Regions from separate parts of the Homo sapiens genome. Here regions 1, 3 and 4 are each linked to region 2. Evidence: promoter capture Hi-C in 16 types of primary human blood cells and fetal thymus (Javierre and others, 2016). All regions are on one chromosome and are shown on one strand. Each heading gives the region's core, a stretch centred on a gene start or on the middle of the fragment in contact. The rest is flanking DNA. Distances are from core to core; before and after follow the strand shown. Region 1 overlaps FRMD4A (FERM domain containing 4A). Region 2 holds the start of MEIG1 (meiosis/spermiogenesis associated 1). Region 3 holds the start of RSU1 (Ras suppressor protein 1). Region 4 overlaps PRPF18 (pre-mRNA processing factor 18).

Evidence for each region. The method cuts DNA at HindIII sites, captures the fragments that hold promoters and counts their contacts. A CHiCAGO score of 5 or more calls a contact.
Region 1: a contact is called between a fragment that was not itself captured here and the fragment with the promoter of MEIG1 in region 2, in 5 of 17 cell types (naive CD8 T cells, total CD8 T cells, naive CD4 T cells and 2 more). The highest score is 10.0, in naive CD8 T cells.
Region 3: a contact is called between the fragment with the promoter of RSU1 here and the fragment with the promoter of MEIG1 in region 2, in 2 of 17 cell types (activated CD4 T cells and fetal thymus). The highest score is 7.7, in activated CD4 T cells.
Region 4: a fragment that was not itself captured here is called in contact with the fragment with the promoter of MEIG1 in region 2 in 1 of 17 cell types (naive CD4 T cells); the score reaches 5.6 in naive CD4 T cells.

The regions. Positions count from the first base shown.
Region 1 is chr10:13,786,087-13,788,988 of GRCh38, forward strand. All of the region lies in intron 5 of FRMD4A (FERM domain containing 4A), which reads right to left. Among named protein-coding and RNA genes, the nearest start is that of PRPF18, 200 kb to the left of the region's middle. RefSeq lists enhancers at 1,358-1,407, 2,223-2,813. The HindIII fragment of the contact is 4,505 bases long and covers 1-2,902 here.
Region 2 is chr10:14,958,013-14,960,903 of GRCh38, forward strand. MEIG1 (meiosis/spermiogenesis associated 1) reads left to right here and starts at 1,376. Exons shown (of 3, transcript NM_001080836.3): 1 at 1,376-1,545. RefSeq lists a silencer at 1,599-1,648. The HindIII fragment of the contact is 3,683 bases long and covers 1-2,350 here.
Region 3 is chr10:16,816,066-16,818,890 of GRCh38, forward strand. RSU1 (Ras suppressor protein 1) reads right to left here and starts at 1,359. Exons shown (of 9, transcript NM_012425.4): 1 at 1,250-1,359; 2 at 908-1,019. The coding sequence starts at 1,016. It overlaps LOC105376435 (a long non-coding RNA gene), which reads left to right and starts at 1,634. Exons shown (of 3, transcript XR_930708.3): 1 at 1,634-1,691; 2 at 2,616-2,677. RefSeq lists enhancers at 838-997, 1,668-1,777, 1,808-1,897, 1,928-1,977. The HindIII fragment of the contact is 3,392 bases long and covers 1,290-2,825 here.
Region 4 is chr10:13,588,079-13,591,101 of GRCh38, forward strand. The region is part of intron 1 of PRPF18 (pre-mRNA processing factor 18); the gene reads left to right. Among named protein-coding and RNA genes, the nearest start is that of PRPF18, 2.6 kb to the left of the region's middle. The HindIII fragment of the contact is 1,042 bases long and covers 751-1,792 here.

The DNA.
Region 1 (2,902 bases), core at 64-2,563, 1.2 Mb before region 2:
TGCATGTGTCTTTATAGCAGCATGATTTATAATCCTTCAGGTATATACCCAGTAATGGGATGGCTGGGTCAAATGGTATTTCTAATTCTAGATCCTTGAGGAATCGCCACACTGTCTTCCACAATGGTTGAACTAGTTTACAGTCCCACCAACAGTGTAAAAGTGTTCCTATTTCTCCACATCCTCTCCGGCACCTGTTGTTTCCTGACTTTTTAATGATTTGATTTTCAAAAAATAAATCTATATCGTAGCTCATGCCTGTAATCCCAGCACTTTGGGAGGCCAAGATGTGTGGATCAACTGAGGTCAGGAGTTCGAGACCAGCCTGGCCAACATGGTGAAAGCCTGTCTCTACTAAAAATACAAAAAATTAGCCAGGCGTGGTGGCGGACACCCGTAATCCCAGCTACTTGGGAGGCTGAGGCAGGAGAATCGCTTGAACCTGGGAGGCGGAGGTTGCAGTCAGCTGAGATCATGCCATTGCACTCCAGCCTGGGCAACAAAAGCGAAACTCCGTCTCAAAAATAAATAAATAAATCTACATCCTTTGCAAAGGGCCTCTGGCAAAGGGTAGGCAGAATAATAAAAGAAACTAAAGGAAGGAAAAGAAGGAAAAGCGAGGAAAGGGAGAGAAAGGGGAGGCAAGGAAGAGAGAAAGCAATCCTAACACCAGAATATTAACAGAAGCCTCCTGAAGTTGACGGTGGCCTTTGTGCTCTAATGATGATTTTGAGTCTAAATTCATATAAGGTCTGAAATAACTTAATTTTCAAAGTAATGCCATATGTTTCTTAAAAGAATCTCATTTGCTTTAGTTCTTAAAAAGTAAAGAGTAAAGACATCCTGCCTCTTCCACCCCAATTTTCTCCTGAATAGTATATTAAGAAAATATAACGCTTCCCTTTTCGTTTCCACTCTCATATGATGGAAAACTGAATTGAGGTGGCAAATTCTACATCTCTGTGACTGCCTTCATTTCCACCAAGCTCTCTGTTGTCTAGCCATAAAAGGGGCAGAGAAGGTACAGGAAATAACACGCATATTCTGAGATGAAGAGAAAAAAAATCACCTCCTCTCGACGGAAGTGGAAAGCAGTTTCCTGTTAACTTTTATCACCAAGACGACAGCCTGGAAAACCCCGTGAGCTCCGGGCCTGTCATATCATTGTTCTGTTAGGGGAGGGTATGGAGCTCATCCTGAGCTTTCCCTCCCTGCCAGGGAACGGCTGAGTCAAAAACGCCTGCAGAGAAACAGAGCTCAGACCTCTCCACCCGCACGCCCAGAGAGGCATGGTGCACACCGGTGGCACCAGGGACAAGAGCCTCCTGGGAAGATGGGGAGGGCTGAGGGTTTGGATTCAAAGTCAAAATTTTTTTTTCTTTTTTTTCTTTTTGAGATGGGGTCTTGCTCTGTCACTCAGGCTGGAGTGCAGTGTGCAACCACAGTTCACTGCAGCCTCGACCTCCTGGGATCAAGTGACCTGTCTGTCTAAGCCTCCCAGATAGCTGGGACTACAGATATAAGCCACCATGCTGACTAATTTTTTATTTTCTGTCGAGATGGGGTCTCACTATGTTGCCCAGGCTGGTCTTGAACTCCTGAGCTCAAGTAATTATCCTACCCTGACCTCCCAAAGTACTCAGGTTACAGGCCAGCCTCTTCTTCTTTTTTTTTTTTAATCCAGTTTTTGGCTGGGCATAGTTTTTGGCCGGGCATAGTTTTTGGCCGGGCATGCCTGTAATCCCAGCACTTTGGGAGGCCGAGGCAGGCAGATCTGTCTCAAAAAAAAAGAAAAAAAAAAAAAGTGGCTTCTTTTTCTGATTTTCAGGAGAGCCTCAGCAGTAGGTGGCAATGTTGCATTTCCTTAACTACCAGCATGGAGCAGGGAGTGCTTCCAGGGTTCACAAAGAACATTCCAGGTCTCTGGGTAACCAGGGAAATAAATGAAGGCTATGTCTCGGATTCAGAGGGTCTGCATGGACAGTTCCGAGTCTGGCTGTGTATTGACCATGGCTTTATGATGCTTGGATGTCTGTGACCTTGCTGGGCCTGGAGGGACTGCTGGTGCCAGGGTTAGCCAATTTCCAGACCCCAAGACTTCCACATGTCACCATGGATCCAGGGTCCACCCCTCCCACCACCTCTCGGCTCTCACACCCAGGGCCACTATTTCCCTGCCCTCACCACCCTAGGGACACGTACCAGACAACTAGGGGGCAGCCCCCATGCTGCAGAGCCCGCTGAAATTATTTAAACTAGCCAATCCCAAGCCTGCTCTCCCAGCCTTGCCCGTTCCTCCCCAAAGAAACCACAAAAAATGCTCTTGCCCAATTGTTTCCCGGCTCCCCAATGCCTCCCACATGGCCCTGCGTGGCATGGTGTGGCCCCTTCTCCCAGGAACTGAGTGACAATCTTTTCAATGTCTGTCCTCTCCTCATCTGCTGGCCTCACCACAGCTGAATCATAATCAGACCTACATTTTAAACGGGTTTTGGGGGCACACTTAGCAGGACTGAATCTTAGGGCATCTATTTGAGTCTAAAGGAACACTCTAGATGGAGCGCAGACCTTGCTAAGAGGTTTCCTGACTCCACAAGCAACAGCCCACCCAAACTAGCTCAGATGATCCCGACCCGAGAATATTTTATCAGAGAGTCTGAAGGAGAACGAAATAGGTGCTCTGTGTTTATGTGTTTGAGCTTATTAAATATTAAACAGCCTCTAAAGCCTCGGGGAGTCCCGTCCCCTTCTTTGACAAGTGAAAGCCTCTGGTTGCAATAGACTGAACACTGCCTAGTCAGATGGCAAGGGCCCAGCCAGATGACATCAGCCAGGTCTCCTCCTCCATTCTCCCTGCTCTCCCTTTCCCTTCCCCATCCAGCCCTGGGCACTTGGGAATCAC
Region 2 (2,891 bases), core at 126-2,625:
GAGCTGTTGGGAACGGTTGTAATTACCAGAAAAAAGAAAAATTATGATGGCTTGAGTAGAAGCTATAAAGTCAGCAGGTTGCATTGATGGATATGGAAAGAGAGGGCTCTAGGCCACATCTACTAAAAGACATGAAGAAGGAGCAGGGTTTTTGTTTTTGTTTTGGCAGGGAGGTGTTTGGGGAGGTTGTTTTGTACAATCAAGTGGATGTTGAATATACATTGATATACAAATCTAAAGTTCAGAGAAAGACCGGGCTGAAGAGAGAAATTTGGGAGTTGTAAGTAAATAGTTTTTTGTTTTTAGTTTTACTAAGTATTGCCTTTGTTTTAGTATGACTCGTTTATTTAGAAGTTTATATAATTTAATTTGTGATATGTCTTGTGTTTTTGTTTTGTTTGGGGCAGGTGCCCGAGGCCCTTGTCATCTTCATTGACTCCAGCTCATGGCTTGTATTTAACAACGAGCTCAGAAAAATTCCTAAAAATTTAATTACTGAGTCTCCAGAGCTCTAATGAGCTGGCTCCAGCACACAATTGCTCCTTTCTTTCATTCAACAATTTGACAAGTCCTGATGGCTCTACATTCAAAACATGTAAATTGGCCGGGCGCGGTGGCTCACGCCTGTAATCCCAGCTCTTTGGGAGGCCGAGGCGGGTGGATGACGAGGTCAGGAGATCGAGATCATCCTGGCTAACACGGTGAAACCCCGTCTCTACTAAAAATACAAAAAATTAGCCAGGCGTGGTGGTGGGTGCCTGTAGTCCCAGCTACTCGGGAGGCTGAGGCAGGAGAATGGCGTGAACCCGGGAGGCGGAGCTTGCAGTGAGCCGAGATAGCACCACTGCACTCCAGCCTGGGCGACGGAGCGAGACTCCGTCTAAAAAAAAACAAAAACAAAAAAACAAAAAACCGTATATCTTGAATCTGATCACTTTTCGCTTAGATAGTACTGTAATATAGTAATAGATAATGCTAGAAAAAATAATTAAAGCTATAGATATCATCTATTGTAGGTTTACTGATTGTCAGGCACTATGGCGACTCTCTGGAATGGTTCATTCCTCGCAAATGAATAGATAGGAGATATCTACTATCAGGAACTACAAACACAGTCTCCGTGCTGTGATCCGCTTTCACAGGGAATTTTGTCTGGGATTCAAGTAGCGGCAAGTAACCCTTTTTCGCCCTCCATCTCTGCTCAGGGGTGAGCCCTGGCAGCGCTCCTACCTGGGACCTACATTGGCTTAGTAAGATGGGCCGGCGCCCACCCCAGCCCTCGCGCATGCGCATAAAAGCCCACTCCCGGGGGCGGGGCCTGAGCTAGCTGGGCGGGGCCTGAAGGAGCCGGGAGCTCCTGCAGCTTCATCGCGTTACTAAGAGACGCGAGGGTCGCGAAGGGCACAACACTTGGCCTCTCGCTGGCCCTGCTCGCGGATCCCGAGTAGAGAACGCAAGCACCCACGCCCGCCTGCAAGCTCCCGGGCGCCCCCGGCCTCTCCTGCTCGGCGGAACGAGGATAACCCAGTAGAGCCGGACCCAGGGGTGGGTGGATGCGTCGCTGGAGGCGAGGGCCCTGCCCGCCAACCCCTGCGCCCCGGCCGTAGCCCCACCCCGGAAGTTCTTGCCCCGCCTTCTCGGCTCCGCAGTTCTCTGCTGTCTCCTGAGGTTTGCCAGGGAGATCCCGTGGTTTTCATGTCTCTTCCGTGATTTTTAGGGAAGAGGGTCACTATTTGGCCCTTCCAGAATCTCAGGGTCCGGTTCTCCCGGAAGTTTCCGGGCCGCCCCGGACCCCATTGGCTTTAGGGGCCGCGTCTCCGAGGGCTCCGATTTGGGCCCTAGATTTTGGAATACTGTGTTTTGTCCGTCCCAGCCTTCACCAGGCGGATTTCATCTCCCACACAGTTAGTGATTTATGGCAGAAAGGAAGCTGGAGGGATGGGGACTGCAGGTTAGCTGTGAGGGCCGGAAGGGAGCGGTTTTGTGCTGCACACAGGCAGGTCAGCACTCCCAGAGCAGGGACCGCCGGGCGTGCTTTCGGAACCGCTTTTGTCTTTCAAATGAACGCCCAGCGACAGCAGACGGGAGTTCCAGGACCTTAGAGACCGGCTAATGCTTCTCTTTAAGTTAGGAAACAGGCGCAGGCGTGTTCATGGCCTTGCCTAAGGTTACGTGCTGGTTACAGGGCTCCTCCTGCTGCCTCTTAAGAACAGAAATAATCTAATAGGAGGAATAAAAGGGACTATTAGGGAGGCTAATGCTCTTGAAGTTTTAATACTACTAAAAGTAAAAGCGCTTTTCAGAGTGAAAGGGAAGTGAAAAGGGAATTTGGGTGGCTGGCTACATCAGAAGCTTCTGTTCCAACTTTAGATTGTCAGGGAGTTGAGATGGTGTTTTTTGTTTTTATTTTTGTTTTAGTTTTTTGAGACGGAGTCTCGCTCTGTAGCCCAGGCTGGAGTGCAGTGGCGGGATCTCGGCTCACTGCAAGCTCCGCCTCCCGGGTTCACGCCATTCTCCTGCCTCAGCCTCCCGAGTAGCTGGGACCACAGGTGCCCGCCACGATGCCCGGCTAATTTTTTGTATTTTTAGTAGAGACGGGGTTTCACTTTGTTGGCCAGGATGGTCTCGATCTCCTGACCTCGTGATCCACCCGCCTCGGTCTCCCAAAGTGCTGGGATTATAGGAGTGAGCCACCGCGCCGAGATGGTGTGTTTTTAAAATAACGTGCCCGAGGCCGGGCGTGGTGGCTCACCCCTGTAATCCCAGCACTTTGGGAGGCTGAGGCAGGCGGATCACCTGAGGTCGGGAATTCGAGACCAGCCTGACCAACATGGGAAAACCTCGTCTCTACTAAAAATACAAAAAAATTAACCAGGCATGGTGGCGCATGC
Region 3 (2,825 bases), core at 109-2,608, 1.9 Mb after region 2:
TTAAACCAAAGCCACGTCAGCCTGAAGAACTGCTTTAGCTCACTTATCACAGGTTTTTCAAATATTAGAATTAGTAGCCAACATCTAAAAATTAGCAAATTTCACATAAAAATATAGAATCTTGGTTCCTTTAAGAAAATAATCTGGCACATTGGGCCAACATTCCTATGGTGACATGTGTCTGAGTAGCAGGTGCAGCAGCTGGCCCCTTCAAGTGGGACACCTATCACCTAGTTCATAACCGCCCCTGACCGCCCTCACTTGGAGGCATGTGAATCTGCAATCCCTGGTTTTAAGGGAGAGGGTAACACCATAGACAGGGGTTACAGGAAAATGACACTGAAAGTGACCCAGTGATTAAACTGGGCAGTGAAACTGAAGGCAAGAGGGCAAGTTAGGAGGATTTCACCACAGCATGAGGAGGTGACAAAAGCCTGAACCAAGTTCGGAGAATAAATACTCAGAAGAATGTAAAGATTCAAGAAATGCTTAAAACGCTCCAGGCACAAGAATGCTTATTAACCATGGAACTTTTCTGTGTCATTTGTTCATGGACAAAGACTGTATTAGGAGACAGGAAGAAGGACTCAAAATTAATTTTCAATTTATAATTAAAGTGACTATTAAGCAAACTGTGGAAAATCCACCTCAATGCCATACAGCAGAGACAACCGATGAGGCACAGCTGTCTGTGTGATTCTCATCGTGGACTCTCAGGATCGTTTTCCAGGTGGAACAGAACAAATCCTACTGCAAACCCTCTGCGCGAAGCCCCTGACAAGTGAGGTTTACAAGCAGGGGCTGGGGTCTAAACCAGTACAATCGCTCACAGCAGGACCAGCAGTGAATTGGCAAACTTAGAAAGCCTTCCAGCTCATCCACGGGAGAGTCCTGCCCGAGAACTCACAGAGGCCGTTGACATCCAGCATGTTGGAGATGCCCCGGTCACTCATGTCCACCTCGGGCTGGTTCTTCTCCCGGCTCTCCTCCACCAACTTCTTCAGAGACTTGGACATGGTCTGCACCGAACAACAACAAAGCACGTGGGCGATGACAGCAAGCGCAGAGGCGGAAAGGCAAGAGGCCTTCGCTGCCACTCTGAGGCTTCCCCAGGGTTGGAGCGGGTGGGCGTCCGAGGGCGTCCCAGGGGCTGGTCCGGGTGCGGGGAGGGGATGGAGTGGGAAGGGTTCAGCCCCGCTGCGGCCACGCAGCGAGAAGCAACCCCAAGTGCAACACCGCACACACTCACCACGGAAGGTAGCCCCTAAGACGATGGGCGTGCAACCACAAGCTTCGGCAGAACGCACTCCAGCTGCCCTCACTCCCTGCAACACCGGCACTGAACAGCGAACACGCCCTGTCTCGGCGCCCCGCGCAGGCGCACACAGCGCCGCTGCCAGCTCCACGCCCGACCCTACCCATATTAGGAGAACAGCTCTCCAGACGTGTCTCCAGGGCCAGGCTCCGCCCTTAAAAGTCTGTGGAAGAGGCTGGCTAATCACGTTCGTTATTCGGCTTCGAGACCCCGCCCCACGCTGAGGATAGTTTATCCCGGTGGCGTCCACCCCACGGTTTGGGACGCTGATTGGGCCGAAGTTGGCGCGTGCGCAGTAGACTTGGCGCAAGCTCAGTTGATGGGTCGAAGCCCAGAGGGCTGTGGGCGGAAGTGGGGAAGTTTGTGGCGTGACTGTGTAAGGGAGGGTGGTGGCTCAGGGTGGGTGTTGCGAAAGCTGGAAGTAAATTGCTTCCGAATGTTTCGCTTGTGTAATAGCCGCTCCACTCGCCAGAAGTTGCTACCCTGAGCCCGTCTCCACAATGTGCCTCTGAGGGACCTTGTGGGGCACGCAGTTTCCCGCCCTATTAAGAGCTTCTCCAGGCGGGGATTCCGGCGCGGTCTGCGTTTCCCCAGCGCCCTGCTGGAAATCTTTTTTGACAGGTTTCTAAGGCTGGCTTTTAGCCTTTTTACTTGTAGCTAGAACCTACAAGTAAAACCCTACTATTTTAAAAGTCATTTGAAAACACCACTAAAGCGATGTGTCTTTCCCAACTAGGACTTTTACATTTGTGAAACATGACGTTCTGGCTTCCAGGAATCTCTTGCTTTCTCTTCCAAAAGCAACCAAATTTTAAATTCTAGAGAAACTGTTGCCCTCTGCCTCCCTATTTCCTGACCCAGTCTCAGTCACCCAGCAACATCCTGTGCTTCTCTCACCAAAAACCCTGTCCTGAGAGACTATTTTATACTATGGAATAAAAATTGGCACCAGGCACTTTTCTTCTACTGGTCACCTAAATTGATGATAAGACGGATGCCACACATATGCATTTATATATTGTAGATTGTAGCAGGGATCAAAGCCTTAAGGAGATGTGGTAAAATAATGTAATTATATCTCCGAACCAATTGGATAAAAAAAGGATCTGCACTCTTAAATTCGAAAGCAGGTATTTCTTGCTTAAAAAACATTCCAGATGAAAGAGTTATTCCTCCATTAGTCTTCTTTGATCTGGAACCGTCCTTGGCTTTTATGTTTATTGAACTAGACATTATTTAAGAATACAGACCAGGTATTGTGTGGAATATCCTTCAAAGTAAGTTTGATGTTCCCTTTCAGGTTATGAATTTTTGGAGAAACACCACTAAAGCGATGTGTCTTTTCCAGTGCATGATATCAAGGTACAGATGGCATCGGTTTCTCCCAGTATAGGTGATGTTCACTTAAATAAGGTAGTGTCTGCCAGGTTTCTTCACCATAAAGTTACTATTTTTTTCTTTATGATTAAAAATAATGCTGGGGGGAGGTGCTACTTGATTACACCCCATT
Region 4 (3,023 bases), core at 22-2,521, 1.4 Mb before region 2:
TTCCCTTCTGTCGCCTTACGAAGGGTTTGTGCCCAACTGAAACATGGAGGAAGGGCCGCCGGGCGCGGTGGCTCACACCTGTAATCCCCACACTTTGGTGGGCAGATCACCTGAGGTCAGGAGTTCGAGACCAGCCTGGCAAACATGGTGAAACCCCGTCTCTACTAAAAACACCAAAATTAGCTGGGCGTGGTGGTGCGCGCCTGTAATCCCAGCTACTCAGGAGGCTGAGGCCAGAGAATCACTTGAACCCGGGAGGCGGAGGTTGCCGTGAGCCGACATCGCACCACTGCACTCCTGCCTGGGCGACAGAGTGAGACACCGTCTCAAAAAAAAAAAAAAATTCCTTCTAGCCAGGTGTGGTGGTGCGCGCGTCTAGTCCCGGCTGCTTGGGAGACCAAGGCGGGAGGATCGCTTGAGCCCAGGAGTTCAGGCTGCAGTGAGCTATCATCGTGCCACTGCACTCCAGCCTGGGTGAGAGACCGAGTCCCTGTCTCTAAAAAAAAAAAAAAAAAAGTAATAAAATTCCTTTCTAATAGTAAATCCCAATTTTTTAAATTCTATTCCTCCTCCTTCTCTCTTCTTCAACACATGAAAAGTCTGTAGGCCTGCTCTTCACTGATGGGAATGCTAAGACTCTTTTGGAAAGGTACTAAAAAGGGGGAGAAAGAATTACATGATTTAGGAACTTCCTGAAGATGATCTCCCTTACTTTATTGTGTAGCAGTAACTTAGACCGCTGGTTCTCAAAGCTTTTGGTCTCAGGACCCCTTCACACTCTTAAAAGTTACTGAAGATCTTGAAGGACTTTTGTTTATGTGTTATTTCTATCCGTATTTACCATATTAGAAGTTAAAACTGAGAAACGTTAAAAATACTCACTGATCGATCATTTGGAAAACATTGGGTTACTGAATTATGCAGGTCTCCCACCTGTTGACACATTTCATTACAAAATATGAAAAGATCACTTCATTTAATATCCACTGATCTGAGAAACATCTGTAAGCATTAGGAAACTGTCAGGCTCCTGATGACAGATCTAAGTTCACCACACTTAATTTCCACTTGGAAGCTGGAATTTTATCATAGGCAACAAATATTATCAGTTATTTTCTTGAAGTGATCTGCTCACTTTGTTCAGTTTGGGGAAGTTGTCTGCCAAATACCCAAGTCTGAAGAACCATGGTTTGCCGGGTGTTCTTAAGTGTAAAAATGGTATTCCGTGAAAAAGCCAGTTTAGCTTGCAACTCAATTACTTTCCTCCACACAACCAGCAAACTTTAGTATAAATGAGAATTGTTGTATGCATCTTTCCTGTTTTGTCACATAATATTAAAAAGATATGGCCAAAGATCAAGACTTAATAAAAATAGTAATTTTACTCCTTTATCATAAGGAGTAAATTTGTTTAGAGAAACTGGCTCCCTCTGGCTGCAGTGGCAGTTTAGAGTCACTGCCTTGGTTCTTGCTAAGGCTTTAGCAAATTTACCATTGCTTTTCACCTACAGTGCAGATGTCATCAGAGTGAGCAGGCAGATAATGCCTTACTGTAGAAAACACTTTTGACCTCATGAGTCCTCTCAGAGGGTCTACAGGACCCATGGAAATCCGTGCATCACAGAATATCTGACTTAGATATTTGGATGTTGTGTACGATTGATGTATGTGATGTAGTGTAAGTAAGTTAGAGTTCTTAGCTTGGTAAATGGCAAATTTCATGATCATTGAAACTTTAAAAACAATTAGAAAAGTGGAGGTAATAGAATGCTGTTTGGTAGGTATGGGGAAAAGCTTGTTCATATTTGTAAATGTTTTTATGTCTACTGCAGGGACCTTTTGATGAGTGGTTGGGAGTATTTTAAATTTAGGTGTTGGAGTGCATAGTGGATGTTAGGAAGGGCCAGGGTGTTGAAATCTAAGTGCTTTAAAGGGAAAAGTGAATCACAAAATATTCAGCCCACCCTCAAGGTTCACAACATGAATATTTGCATAATCATGTTCTTCGTCATTGAAATGCACCAATCTACAAAAATGATCATTAAAAAAAAAACTTTAGATTCTTCAGGGTCATTTATAATTTATAATATATAAACTTTTCCTGGGTGTCTTTCATTTTTTAATTTGGTAGTTGATTGAATTATCACATAATTCCAGCCAGAAGATAAGATTGATTTTTTCAATCACAGAGCAGTTCAGACCAACAAAGGGCGTACATGAAATGGGAATTAAAATACTGACATTCGGCCGGGCGCGGTGGCTCACGCCTGTAATCCCAGCACTTTGGGAGCCTGGGGTGGGCAGATCACGAGATTGAGACCATCCTGGCTAACACGGTGAAACCCCATCTCTACTGAAAATACAAAAAAAAAAAATATATATATATATATATATTAGCTGGGCATGGTGGCAGGTGCCTGTAGTCCCAGCTACTCAGGAGGCTGAGGCAGGAGAATGGCGTGAACCCGGGAGGCGGGGCTTGCAGTGAGCTGATATTGTGCCACTGCACTGCAGCCTGGGCGACAGAGCGAGACTCCATCTCAAAAAAAAAAAAAAAAAATACTGACATTCATAGTTTATATTAGCAGTAATGTTAGGCATCATGCAATATGTGTTTTCTAACTTGTACAACAAGTTGCCATTGTTCCCATTTACAGATGAGGAAACTGGAAGCTAAGAGAAGTTACATGACTATAGGATTATGCAGCTAGCAAGAGATAGAGCCTGGATTTGAACCCTGGTCTGTTCCTACTTCAGAGCCTGATCTGTTAACCTGTACAGATAGAATGGATATTTATTCACCTTACAAACATAGAACTAGTTTTGATAGGGCTAATGTAACAAAGCACTGGAAAATTATTAGACTAACATGATTTATATTTTTCAAAGTGCTATATGCTATCTGATTTGAGCTTTACAACGGTTAATTAGTGCACAAGGCAATGCTGTTTTCATGGATGATGAAATTGAGGCTTAGAGGGTTACACGATGTTCTCATATTCCTGTGGCCAGCCGGGATAGAT